5 separate regions of the Homo sapiens genome follow, and all the other regions are linked to region 1. Evidence: promoter capture Hi-C in 16 types of primary human blood cells and fetal thymus (Javierre and others, 2016). All regions are on one chromosome and are shown on one strand. Each heading gives the region's core, a stretch centred on a gene start or on the middle of the fragment in contact. The rest is flanking DNA. Distances are from core to core; before and after follow the strand shown.

Region 1 (2,547 bases), core at 16-2,515:
TGGGTGCCCTCTTTGGGGTCCCTGGCCTCGAGTTGACCTGCCAGCATCCTGGTTGGGAAGGGAAGGGCTATGGGGACACTTGAATGCAGCCCTCCTACCCCGTCAGTGTGGGCTGAAGGCCCCAGCCCCAAACTAAGGGTGAGCAGGACCCGCAGCCGCTCCTTCTCCCCCTGGGTCATGTGCACATTCCCAGGCCCGAAGCTGACCAGGTGAAAGGACACCACAGACAGAGGGACTGAGCTGTCCACACCTGGCTCTCCACCATCCTCCGTGGAAAATGCTTTAGATCCTAGAAGATCAGCCTGACACCTAACACACTCCAGTCATCCAAAGAGGGGTGTGAGTGGGGTGTGAGCCGGTGTGAGTGGGATGTGAGTGGGTTGTGAGCAGGATATGAGCGGAATGTGAATGGATGTGAGCGGATGTGAGCACGATGGTCTTGGGGTATGAGCAGGTGTGAGTGGAATGGTCTCAGGGTGTGAGCAGGTGTGAGTGGAGGGTCGCATGAGACACCGAGGGAATTCTCAGCCCTTTAATCAGCACCCACCTGGAGGGGCACAGGCAGACCCTCCACCGTGTTGAGTATGTGTCTTGAACCATCAGGGTGACATTTGTGAATTCATGGTGAAGATGTGGAAAGGAAACACCTTTTTATAGGTACAGCATTTATGCCAGTTCTAGGAAGTTCACAGCAATTAGAGAACAAAAACGAAAGAGAAAAACGCAAAGCTTTCCTGCAAGCCTGCAGGGTCGTCTCTGAAAGCTGCCTCCACCCCTGCCTTGCCCTGTCCGTTTTAGGAAGCCAGTGGCCCCCAACGAAACCCCGACTGTTTAATTCATAAACTTCTAACTGTGTGAGAAGGAACAGTTTAACCACAGTGATCGGAGAAATGCTATTTAAAAGAGAGTCTCCTGATGGAAGCGAATCGAAGGTCTAGAGCAAGACCTACCAGTAACCAGATCACTGCCATTCCTTCCCCGCGGAGACTGGGAATGTTTCTGCGGAAGTGGGCTGGGGTCACGGTCCTCACAGCCCTGAGAAAGCTCCTTCTTTCCTGCTCCTCTGAGGGGACACCCCAGTGTCCTCGGCCCCAAACTCATGACCCCCTCAGTCCAGGGAAGACCCTTTCCTTCAGCCCCACCACCAGACCTCGTCACCTCACCTGGTCCCCAACAGTCACTACTGCCAGGATCAGATCATCTGGGCCATGTCCCCACAGTTGTCCCCAAGCCCTCCTGCCTCATATCCAGAGACCAGAGAGCAGCGGACAGTTCCAACGGACTTTCTGTCTTAAAGGGACATGAACGTCTCACTCAGCGTCACCACTGTACCAGCTCAGATAATAATTAAACATCCCCAAACCTGCAATTCTTAATATAGAAGCTCATCGTCAGTGGAGTCCATCCATCCACAAAGGACATTGGAGAGAGTCAAACTACTCCTCCAAATTGACAAAAACCATGTGTTTTATATCCAGTCTTCAATACGCAACGTGTAGTAAGAGCTCATTTCTCTGAGCATACATTCTTGGAGAAATACAAACTTTCTTCGGATATCAAATTATTTACTAGAAAAAACATTTTTATGAAGGGAAAATAATATATGTGAGTTTAAATAGGAGACAGGATTCAAAGTTTCATCATTTCACTAAATGCATCTCCATCTGAATTGTCCGTGTGATTTTTGTGATAGAGAAGAGAATGAGGAGCAAGCAAGAGTCGATATTCCTGTTAAACCCTGGCTGTCCTTCTCATCCATGGTGCTGCGTGTGGACAACATACACCTGGGGCTCACCTGAGCCTGCTTGGGACGTGTGTCACTTGGATAGTTCTGCAAGCGATTCGCATGCAATAGGCAGTAAATGCCGACGTCATGAATGAATGAAGAGAATACTACAAAGAGGAAACAGAAGGCACTTTTGTCCCCATGTGTCATTCTAACTGTGAGAGTGTGTGTGTGTGTCCTGAGGTGTGCGAGTGTGTGTGTGTGTGTCCTGAGGTGCGTGAGAGGTTGTATGTTTGTCCTGAAGTGTGTGAGAGTTTATATAGGTTTCTGAGGTATGTGAGGGGTTGTGTGTGTCCCTGAGGTGTATGAGGTGTGTGTGGGTCCTGAGGTGTGTGAGTGGTTGTGTGTGGGTCCCTGAGGTGTGTGAGAGGTTGTGTGTGGGTCCTAAGGTGTGTGAGTGGTTGTGTGTGGGTCCTAAGGTGTGTGAGAGGTTGTGTGTGGGTCCTAAGGTGTGTGAGTGGTTGTGTGTGGGTCCTAAGGTGTGTGAGAGGTTGTGTGAGTCCTGAGGTGTGTGAGAGGATTGTGTGTGAGTCCTGAGGTGTGTGAGGGGTTATGTATGGGCCCCTGAGGTGTGTGAGGGGTTTTATGTGTGTCCTGAGAAGTGTGATGAATTGTGTGGGTCCTGAGGTGTGTGAGGGTTTGTGTATGAGACCCTGAGGTGTGTCAACATTGTGTGTGAGACCCTGAGGTGTGTGAGGGGTTGTGTGTGGATTCCTGAGGTGTGTGAGGGCTTGTGTGTATGAGCCTGAGGTGTGTGGGTT
Region 2 (2,547 bases), core at 35-2,534, 230 kb before region 1:
GAGCTGCAGGAGGGGCGGGCCCACACTTCTGCCCAGCTGTGAGGACAAGAGCACGAGCCTCAGCAGGGAAGAGACGGGTTCACAGCTACCAGGCAGTGACTTCCAGGGCCCGTGTTTTCAGAGCAGGAGACTCGGGAGGCAGGCTGAGATGGCAACTCCTCACAGAGTGTGTGAGACACCCATCAATGCAATGCCATTTCTCAAATAAGAGATGTGTCTTCCTAAGCCTTGGTGAAACACAAAGGTTGTTTTGACTAAACTGAAAGGGACAGGCCCACCTCAAAACTTAAAAATCCCTTGAACCACATCAGGAACAGAAATTCATCAGCCAGTTACTAAATTAATACACTTAAGAGGGAGGGCTGGGCCAGGCTCAGTGGCTCACGCCTGTAATCCCAGCACTTCGGGAGGCTGTGGCGGGTATATCACCTGAGGTCAGGAGTTCAAGACCAGCCTGGCCAACATGGCGAAACCCCATCTCTACTAAAAATACAAAAATTAGCCAGGCGTGTTGGTGTGCACTTGTTATCCCAGCTACTAGGGAGGCTGACGGTTGCAGTGAGCTGAGGGTTGCTGTTGAGGGTTCAACAGCTTGAACCCGGGAGGCAGAGGTTGCAGTGAGCCAAGATCCTGCCATTGCACTCCATCCTGGGCAACAAGAGCGAAACTCTGTCTCAGAAAAAAAAAAAAAAGAGGGAGGGAGGGCTGGGTGCGGTGGCTCATGCCTGCAATCCCAGCACTGTGGGAGGCTGAGGCAGGCAGATCACTGTGAGCCCAGGAGTTTGAGACCAGCCTGACCAACATGGTGAGAACCCATCTCTTCAAAAAACACAAAAATTAGCTGGGAATGGTGGTGCATGCCTGTAGTCCCAGCTACTTGAAAGGCTGAGAGGTTGGAGGGTGGCTTGAGTCCACTGAGGTCAAGGCTGTAGTGAGCTATGATGCGCCACTGCACTCCAGACTTGGTGACAAAAAAAACAAAGGCCCGGCAGGGCTGCCAACCCATTCTACTGTAGGAAGGGCTCTGTCTTGACCAGGCTGCCCTGAAAACAAAGTCAGGCTGACCTGGCTCCCATGGGCAGGGCTGAGGGACATGAAGAGTTTGCAGCTGAGGTCTGGACAGAACAGCACTTAAACTGCCTCTGCAGTGAGTTCCAGGGAGCAAGAGTGTGCTGGGCTGTGGGCCCGACTCAGAGAAGGCTTAGCTCTCTGGTGGCAGAGCTCTGAAGCCTGTGGAGGATGGGGGCAACGCTGACCTGGCCGAAGTTCTCCACAGTGCTCCGCAGGTAGAGCAACACCTGCTTGGCCGCGAGCAGGACCTGCTGCATGGACAGGTGTGGCATGGTGGCCTGCAGCTGCACCTGGATGTGCTCGTCCCGAAGCGCTTGGCTCTCGTAGGCTGCCTGCAGCAGGGCTGTGAAGGACGAGGCCAAGGGAAGGGCAGGGGGCGAGGGGCTGCCCTGTGCCTGCAGCAGCTGAGGGAGACAGCAAAAGGCCGGGGAAGAGAAAGACACATCACCACAGATGAAAACGGTCATAGGCACAGGTAACACACAACAAACGGACATTTCACAAAGAAGCACATGCTGAGATAAGACTAACGAATACGGGACCGTGTGGCATTTTACTTCAGTAGAGTAAGTTCTCGTACCATGTCATGCGTACTTTCCTAGAGCGTTTCCACTGACCACATGTGAAGGCCCAAATTCATGCTGCATCTACACCCCTTGGAGAACAAGGCAGAAGCCTGTCCCACAGGCAGGAGCCACGTGTGACAGAGGCAGGATGTGAATCACAAGAATCACTAGAAAGGGGGAAATCAGCCCACAGAGAAGCCCGCTCTGCGAGTGGCCTGCCTTCGGAAGACCTTCCCCAGGAGCTGCGGGTCGAATATCTTGTTAGAAGGACAGAAGATGGGCAGAACACAGAGAAATTTCTGGAGCCCTTCTGCCTCAAACTGAAGTTATTCATTTCTTCTAACATTACTACCAAGCTGCCTTCTTTATTTACTCCACGTGGCTTATGTTGCTATAATTCCATTTGACTTCCTTAGGCTAATAAAACCCAAGGCTGTAACATGCCCTGAAACTTGGTGGTTGTCAGTGTTCCCCAGGCCTGCAGCAGCATGTGTGAAATGCAAATTCTCAGGCTCCACCCAGACCTGCCGGGCCAGACACTGTGGCTGGAACCCGGCAGTCCAGTTTGAAAAGGCCCTCTGGGGAATTCCGACACACCCTGGAGGGTGAGAACCACTGCTAAGTCTTATTCCACAGAAGGTGGACACCCACTCCAAGCAACCACGAGGGGCAGGACAGAACCTCTAATACTGCCACATAAGTTGCTGTCTGGCTATCACTGTGGCCTACGTGTGGGGGAAGGTGGCAACATTATGGGTCAGGGCTCTGGAGCCAGACTGCCTGGGCCAAATCCTGACTCCGCCACTGACTGGTGTTGGAACCGCTCTGGGCCTCGGTTTCCCCATATGCATAAAGGATGGTGAGAGTCCCGGCCTACTTCTCAGAGTTACAGTAAGGATTAAACGGCCAA
Region 3 (2,547 bases), core at 26-2,525, 220 kb before region 1:
TAAATAAACCTCAAATTCAGCTCAGTGAAAGGCAAAACGCTATAGAAGATAAGGACACCAAATTTACATGGTCTAAAATATCCCTTTTTATCCCTGAAAGGTCTTCATATTGTATAGTTTACCAGATGAGAATGTCTGCCTGTCCCCTAACTCCCTATGCCCCCCTACCTAGCTAACAGACTTATTTTTTTGAGATGGAGTCTCGCTCTGTCACCCAGGCTGGAGTGCAGTGGCGCGATCTCAGCTCACTGCAACCTCCGCCTCCCAGGTTCAAGTAATTCTCCTGTCTCAGGCTCCCAAGTACCTGGGATTACAGGCGCACACCACCACACCCAGTTAATTTTTGTATTTTTAGTAAGAGACAGGTTTCGTCACGTTGGCCAGGCTGGTCTCAAACTCCTGACCTCAGGTAATCCGCCTGCCTCGGCCTCCCGAAGTGCTGGGATTACAGGCATGAGCCACCACGCCCAGCTTAGCTAACAGACTTTTAAATATCATGTTTTTTTACCTTGTTTAGTAGTTTGATATTATTTAACCAAGTAGACTTCGCTCGTGGGATAAAGGAAAACGTTACTTCCTTGAAGTATTTGTTCAGTAAGTCCGGGCACACTTTGAGGATGTTTACCACAAGGTCAGCCACCAGATCATCATCAGCTGCAGTTTTCAAACCCAGCAAGAAGTGCAAGAGTGTCAGGTTTCCGCCTCTGTTAGAGAAAGACACATGGGGAGAGGTCAGCAGAAAATGGTCAAAGCACCCTGAGAGCTCATGGTGACGTGCAGCTCTGCAGAATTGCCCTCAGTGAACACAGCAATAACAACGTAGGGAATTTCCCCCAGGACGTAAAGTGGGGGTTCCGTGGCCTGGGGGTTCCAGCTCTCCACAGAGGGCTTCCCTCTCATCCTCTACTTCTGAGTGGCTGAAAAAGTCTCTGTCCTGCGATCTTTCTTCTTTCCTACTTCCCTCCCTTGAGTTCAATTTGCTTTCTAAAGAAAAGGAAGAAAACCATTCTCTCTCGCTCTACCTCAGCCACCTACCAGTCTGCCTAGAAGTCAAGGCTACTGAAAAGAAAGGACAAAACCAGCAGGGAGGAATCCATGCCCCAAATTTCATTTTGAGATTTTACTGACGTTCCTCCTCCAGCCACACACAAAAAAAGCACTATGTAGGGCTGGCTGTGGTACTCACAACTGTAATCCCAGCACTTTGGGAGGCCAAGGTGGGAGGATCACCTGAGGTCAGGAGTTCAAGACCTTGGCCTTGAACTATGTTGGCTTGGTCAACATAGTGAAACCCTATCTCTATTAAAAACACAAAAAAATTAGCCAGGCATGGTGGTGCCTGCCTATAGTCCTAGCTACTCAGGAGGCTGAGGCAGAAGAATTGCTTGAACCTGAGAGGTGGAGGTTGCAGTGAGCTGAGATTGCACCACTGCACTTCCAGCCTGGGTGACAGAGTAAGACTCCATCTGAAAAAAACAGCACTATGTAAATACATATGTGAGTGTGAGTGTAAAAAAATGCAGATAAGACATTTTTCTCTTGAAAGGGGGATTTGTTTTAATTTTTAAAATTTTTTATTATTTCTTCAGAGACAGGGTCTTGCTCTGTCACCCAGAATGCAGTGGCGTGACCATAGCTCACTGCAGCCTCGAATTCCTGGGTTCAAGTGACCCTCCTGCCTCAGCCTCCTGGGTAGCTGGGACTAGAGGTGCACACCACCACATCTGGAAATAAAGTTTTTTTTATACGAACTGCTCATGAGTTGCTGCATGGTCCAGAGCGCCATTAAATTATTTCTTGACAAGAAATCTGACAAGACAGCACGAGGTCTTTGCATGGACCTTCTGCCTTCCCTGTTTCTAGCTTATTTCAAATTCCTTCATTTTCATTTAGCAGATGAAAGAAGCTAGGATGTGGAAAAAATCTACCGTAGAAAAATACTGAAAAGTTATCTCAAAGTGGACAGTCTTCAAAGGTATGAAAAGATAATAAAAGCAGGTGAGCCCAGGACTTCAAGGCTGCAGTAACCTACGACTGTGCCACTGCCTTCCATCCTGAACAACAGAGCGAGTCTCCATCTCAAAAAAAAAAAAAAAAAAAAAGTAAGAAGCAGGAAAGTCTGCAGAGACTAAAACTTGCATAAAGGGAGTAAAATCCCAGGATCCACACAGCCAAAGCCCCAGGACACTAGGCTTCATCTGCTTCAAAGTCTTTTTAGAAAATATGCCCTTTCCTATCTGCTTGACCCTGTGAAGTCAAAACATCCAGAAAATCCTCAGACTCTGTCTCATGTGCACGACACAGTGATGGTTTCTAGGGTCCCCGGTGTCTCACATCCCCCTTATAAATTGAGTAAAACTACAATGCTATATGAGAGCTTTACATATAGTAAAAAAAGTTTTTTAAAAACCAAATTAGAAAGTATAATTTTGATCAGAAAAACTATCCTTTAAAAAAGGACATGAAAATATCCTTTCCTAATATGAAAATGTCATGAACAAAATAGTTTGTACTGTCAAATGAAAAGGATATTAAATCTACAAAGAG
Region 4 (2,547 bases), core at 32-2,531, 190 kb before region 1:
GAGCACACTCAGTGCCCAGATCTTGGTTTCTAATACCATTATCAAATAAAAGGAACCAGGGTGGGTGTGGTGGTTTATGCCTGCAATCCCAATATCTTGGGAGGCCAAGGTAGGTGGATCACCTGAGGTCAGAAGTTCGAGACCAGCTTGGCCAACATGGCAAAACCCCCATCTCTATCAAAAATACAAAAATTAGCTGGGTGTGGTGTCATGCACCCGTAATCCCCGCTACTCAGGACACTGAGGCAGGAGAATTGCTTGAACCAGGGAGGCGGAGGTTGCAGTGAGCCAAGTTTGTGCCGCTGCACTCCAGCCTGGGTGACAGAGTGAGACTCCATCTCAAAAAAAAAAAAAAAAAAAAGAGAAAAGAAAAAAGAAAAAAAAACACACAATAAAAATATAAAAATAAAAAGAACCAGGACTCCTTAGAGAAATGGCTGATTCTAGGGCTGGGACAGGGAACACATAAGGTGAGTGTGGAGTATCTTGTAGTACCAGAAAGTAAGAAATGCTTCAAAAACAAAAGAATGGAGCTATGTCAAAGAGTCACAGGAACCAACTTGAAAGAACTCCCAATGGAACAGTTTCGGTGACAAAATGAATAATATAGCATTGGATTATAACCTAGGGTAAAAAGTAAATATATGTAAGTCTATACTGATATAAAAAATGATGATCACCAGGCATGATGGCTCATGCCTGTAATCCTAGCACCTTGGGAGGCTGAGACAGGAAGATCACTGGAGCCCAGGAGTTTGGGTCCATCCTGGGCAACAGTTTAGCAAGACCTCATCTCTAAAAGAAATAATAATAATAAAATAAAAATAAATTGATTGCTAAGTAAATAAATGGGGGAGAAGAGATAAATCTTCCTTACAAAAGTAATCCAAATAATACATGTAGATACTTCCTGCTTCCAGAGGTGGAGCTTAATTCAAATACTCCTCCCCACTTCCCTAGTGTAGGTTTAGTGACCTACTTTTAAATACTGGAATATGACGAGGGAAAAATGATAACTCTATAATAGAGAAGCATGGCAAACACTACCTTATCCAAGGGATCAAAGTTAATGTCATGTATAAATCATGTTACTGTGATGTACCCCTGAAGTGATGTGATGAAGATGCTTTGCCTCTGTATATCCTTCCCGAAACCCAAAATCCCAGCCCAATTGTGTGGAAAACATCAGAGAAACCTAAATTGAGGGACAGTCTAAAAAGTACATGAGCAGTACCCTTTAAAACTGTCGAGGTCATGAAAAGCAATGAAGAACTGAAACACGACCACAGACCAGATGTGATGGGAGACACAATGATAAAATGCACTGTGGTACCCTGGACTGGACCCTGGAGCAGAAAAAGGCCAGAAGGGGAAAAACTAGTACAGCGCAAATAAAATAAAGTCTGGCGTTTAGTTAATAGTAACGTCCCAATGCTGGTTGCTTAGTTAGCAAATGTACCCTACAACCGTGAGAAATGTAAAACATCAGATGAAACTGGCTGAGAGTGTATGGAATTTTTTTCAAATGTTCTGCAAATCTAGAATCATTTCAAAATAAAAAGTGTAGTCAAGGCCAGGCACAGTGGCTCACACCTGTAATCCCAGCACTTTGGGAGGCTGAGGTGGATGGATCACTTGAGGTCAGGAGTTCGAGACCAGCTCAGCCAACATGGTGAAACCTCGTCTCTACTAAAAGTACAAAAAGTACCTGGGCGTGGTGGTACATGCCTGTAACCCCAACTACTGGGGAGACTGAGACAGGAGGATCACTTGAACCCAGGAGGTGGAGGTTGCAGTGAGCCAAGATCGTGCCACTGCACTCCAGCCTGGGCAACAAAGTGAGACCCTGTCTCAAAAAAAAGAAAGAAGGAAGGAAGGAAAGAAGAAAAGAAAGAAAGAAAAAAAGAAAGAGAAAAGTGTAGTTAAAACAAAGACCTATGCATAGATAGGAACTTTTTATTTTTAATTTTGAAACAGCTTTATTAAGGTATAACTGATATGCAGTCTAATGGCACATATTTACTGTATATGATTTGATGAATTACCTCCTGGCTCCTGGTAACCACCATTCTATTCTCTGCTTCTATGAGTTTGACTATTTTAGGTACTGCTTATGAGTCCTGTCCTTCTGTAACTGGCTTCTTTCACTCAGCAGACACCCAGAATAATTGAAATAAGGTTATTGAAGGGATATTTGCACTCCCTGTTCATTGCAGCATTATTCATAATCGCCAATTTACAGAAGCAACCTAAATGCCTATCGACAAATCAATGGGTTAAAAAAAAATGCGGTATTTAGTATACAATGAAATATTATTCAGCCTTAAAAAAAAGAAGGAAATCTTGATATTTTTGACAACATAGATGAACCTGGAGACCATTATAGAAATGTGATATGTGATCAAGACAACACCAAAATCAGTGGGAGAAGGGTGGTGTGGTAGATTACAAAATATGGTCACAAATTCCTCCCACCCTGGAATTCATGCCCCTTTGCAATTTGACTTTGCAGTTCTCATTGGGAGGTTGGGACATTTCTTCCCCTGT
Region 5 (2,547 bases), core at 28-2,527, 170 kb before region 1:
TTGCTTTGAATATGTAATATCAAGGCAGTATTCCTACCTAGCAAAGGAAGCCAAGATAAGGCCTATTTGGCAAGCCACCCACGGCCCTTAAAATCAAGCATCCCAGGATCAGAACTCTGTGGTAAGAGTTGTGGGGAAATGCATCAGACTTTTCAAGGGCTATTAACTTTTTTTTTTGTACTACTAGAACTTTCTTGGCTGCTAGAAAAGCTCTGTATTAGCTGATTTGAGCTATGGAAAGCAGTTCTGAGTTCAGCCACCATCTAGCTCTGAATTCTAAGGAAATAATTGAAAACTGACAAGCCTTTTTGTGTTTGTGACATCATTGCAACTGAACAAATATTGCTTTAGGCAAATTGCAGTGTAACCATTAGATTGTTTTCACAGATTATAGACACTTAGAGTTCTGTTGCTTTAGGGAAGCAGTTGCAATACTTGTAACAGTCTATAGATTACCACCCAAGTTTGGAATTGTCTGTATCTAGCAACTGTTACATACAGTGGAGTTGAGCTATCAACTCCTTAGTAAAATGAATGATTTGATACATGTTATTCTAAATAGTATAAATGATAAAAGGCATTTTCTTCTGCTTTCCATACGAACCTAAATTCCAGGGTTTCAAACTCCCTGAGCCAGCAGTAGGTGGTGATATTGCCACCCACAACGAGCCCCCATTTTTCCTCTCATCAGTGATGCTCTCCAGAGATCTGAAGATTAGGCAGAACATGTCAGAAGCCTTTTGGGGAGAAGAAAGGAAATATAATGTCCTCCCAAACCACTGATGCACTTAAATTTAAACCTTAATTCTATATCATGTGAGGTCAGGGAAATATTAGAAAAATCTCAGGGAGAAAGAAAGATCATCTTCCAAAGTTGGCTCATTTGACTTGGATTTTAGCCGCCCTCCCTCTGCAAATTCCTAAGCTCCAAAGATGACCATCTTATTGTTCGGTTCAGTGTTTCAGCTGACGCGAACCCCATGTGGCCTCAAAGCTTGCCGCCTGTGTTCCTGGGACAGTCGGTCCTGTTCCTTTTTATGAACTTGAAGGAGTGCATAGAAACCAAAACTGAGGCCTGGAAGGAGACAGTGGATCCTCCCCTGCAGAGCCTGATCACAATAACCAGGGCTAGAGAGCAGTGTTTGACAATGCAGATACTTGCCTGTTTTTCTAAATAAAGGGAACATCAAAAACTAGCAGAGGATAGAGGAAACTTGGGATCCCTCTGCCCTGTGAAGGAGGAGGGAGGATGGTGTATCCATGTGAAAGAAAGTGCCAGAATGTCAGGGGTCCCAGCCATTGTCTGTACAATATAGGCCCCTTTCTCCCCCCAGGAGATTAGCAGTGCAGAGTTTTGGAAAGTTCCTTAAGCCTTTCTCTTCTTTGCGGCTCTTCCTTGAGCCTTTTCCTGGGGCTGTCAGCTGGTGTCGTTTTCCTGGGTCATTGATTTTTTTTTGCCCTCAGGGATTCCAGCATCGATCTCACTCTTAATAAGCCAGAGGCAGCATCATGGCCCCCTCCTCCTCCCTGTCCATGCTCGTGACTTGTTCTAATCACCTCCAAGCTTGCTAGTAAACAGGCTCCCCAAACACCGCCTTCTCTCTCATCTCCAAAGATTTTGAGATGTCGCCAGCGGCCACTGGAAGGCTATCATCACTGCATTAAAAATGAATCCCAGCGAAGGCAAGAGAAGTTCATGCAAAATTAGTGCCTCTGATCCTTAATCTCATACTCAAATGTGCTTGGCTTTCATCCACTTTCCTCTTTGGGATAGAGTTCTCTTCATTTGACTGCATTCTCAAATTGAGGATTTGGCTTGAGACGTCTAAATTCATCATTGACTTAAAAAACAAAACAAACCCCAGAAGTATAATGCTATGCCCATAGTTCTTTGTTCAGAGAACAAGACAGGGAGCTGGAGCTTGAGGATGAGTGCTGAGAGGAGGGAGGGGTGCCCTCTTGAGTAGCAGCCATAAAAAGCAAGGGATCCTCATATTTTTGCCTTAAAGAGTGGTGTTTCAGTGTGTCTCTTGTATTTAGTTTGTGATGGTCCCTCAGTACTTACTGTTTTGTGTGTGTGTGTGTGTGTGTGCTTCTAATTTGTGTTGTTTCTCTGCTGAAGGTAAGCTGGGTCTTCTCTTTCCTCCCTGCTTCTTTCCTTTCTCTCCTTTTCTTTTTCTTTTTCTTTTTTTTTTTTTTTTTTTCTTTTTGAGACGCAGTTTCACTCTGTTGCCCAGGCTGGAGTGCAGTGGTACAGTCTCGGCTCACTGCAACCTCTGCCTCCCAGGTTCAAGCAACTCTCCTGCCTCAGCCTCCTGAGTAGCTGGGATTATGGGCACCCACCACCACACCCAGCTAATTTTTGTATTTTTAGTAGAGACATGTTTTCACCATTTTGGCCAGGCTGGTCTCGAACTCCTGACCTCAAGTGATCCACCCACCTTGGCCTCCCAATGTGCTGGGATTATAGGCATGAGCCACCGCACCCAGCCTCTCCTTTTCTTTTTCTTTTGTTTCCTTTTTTCTCCAAGAAGTTCAAAGTGATTG

The links. The method cuts DNA at HindIII sites, captures the fragments that hold promoters and counts their contacts. A CHiCAGO score of 5 or more calls a contact.
Region 2: a contact is called between a fragment that was not itself captured here and the fragment with the promoter of TCP10L in region 1, in 3 of 17 cell types (endothelial precursors, megakaryocytes and M1 macrophages). The highest score is 7.1, in endothelial precursors.
Region 3: a fragment that was not itself captured here is called in contact with the fragment with the promoter of TCP10L in region 1 in 5 of 17 cell types (M2 macrophages, megakaryocytes, M0 macrophages and 2 more); the score reaches 9.2 in M2 macrophages.
Region 4: a fragment that was not itself captured here is called in contact with the fragment with the promoter of TCP10L in region 1 in 10 of 17 cell types (M2 macrophages, megakaryocytes, M0 macrophages and 7 more); the score reaches 18.4 in M2 macrophages.
Region 5: a contact is called between a fragment that was not itself captured here and the fragment with the promoter of TCP10L in region 1, in 10 of 17 cell types (megakaryocytes, M2 macrophages, endothelial precursors and 7 more). The highest score is 13.2, in megakaryocytes.

What each region holds. Positions count from the first base shown.
Region 1 is chr21:32,584,258-32,586,804 of GRCh38, forward strand. It overlaps TCP10L (t-complex 10 like), which reads right to left and starts at 1,266. Exons shown (of 5, transcript NM_144659.7): 1 at 1,164-1,266; 2 at 1-48. The coding sequence starts at 47. The region is part of intron 5 of CFAP298-TCP10L (CFAP298-TCP10L readthrough); the gene reads right to left. RefSeq lists an enhancer at 1-23 and a silencer at 1,105-1,304. The HindIII fragment of the contact is 14,271 bases long and covers 728-2,547 here.
Region 2 is chr21:32,349,448-32,351,994 of GRCh38, forward strand. It overlaps URB1 (URB1 ribosome biogenesis factor), which reads right to left. Exons shown (of 39, transcript NM_014825.3): 20 at 1,257-1,475; 21 at 1-36. Among named protein-coding and RNA genes, the nearest start is that of SNORA80A, 27 kb to the right of the region's middle. RefSeq lists an enhancer at 2,270-2,379. The HindIII fragment of the contact is 4,143 bases long and covers 1-2,547 here.
Region 3 is chr21:32,367,895-32,370,441 of GRCh38, forward strand. It overlaps URB1 (URB1 ribosome biogenesis factor), which reads right to left. Exons shown (of 39, transcript NM_014825.3): 9 at 509-704. Among named protein-coding and RNA genes, the nearest start is that of SNORA80A, 8.2 kb to the right of the region's middle. The HindIII fragment of the contact is 4,072 bases long and covers 1-2,547 here.
Region 4 is chr21:32,397,358-32,399,904 of GRCh38, forward strand. No RefSeq gene overlaps it. Among named protein-coding and RNA genes, the nearest start is that of URB1-AS1, 5.5 kb to the left of the region's middle. The HindIII fragment of the contact is 7,568 bases long and covers 1-2,547 here.
Region 5 is chr21:32,414,137-32,416,683 of GRCh38, forward strand. The region is part of intron 1 of EVA1C (eva-1 homolog C); the gene reads left to right. Among named protein-coding and RNA genes, the nearest start is that of EVA1C, 2.7 kb to the left of the region's middle. The HindIII fragment of the contact is 570 bases long and covers 993-1,562 here.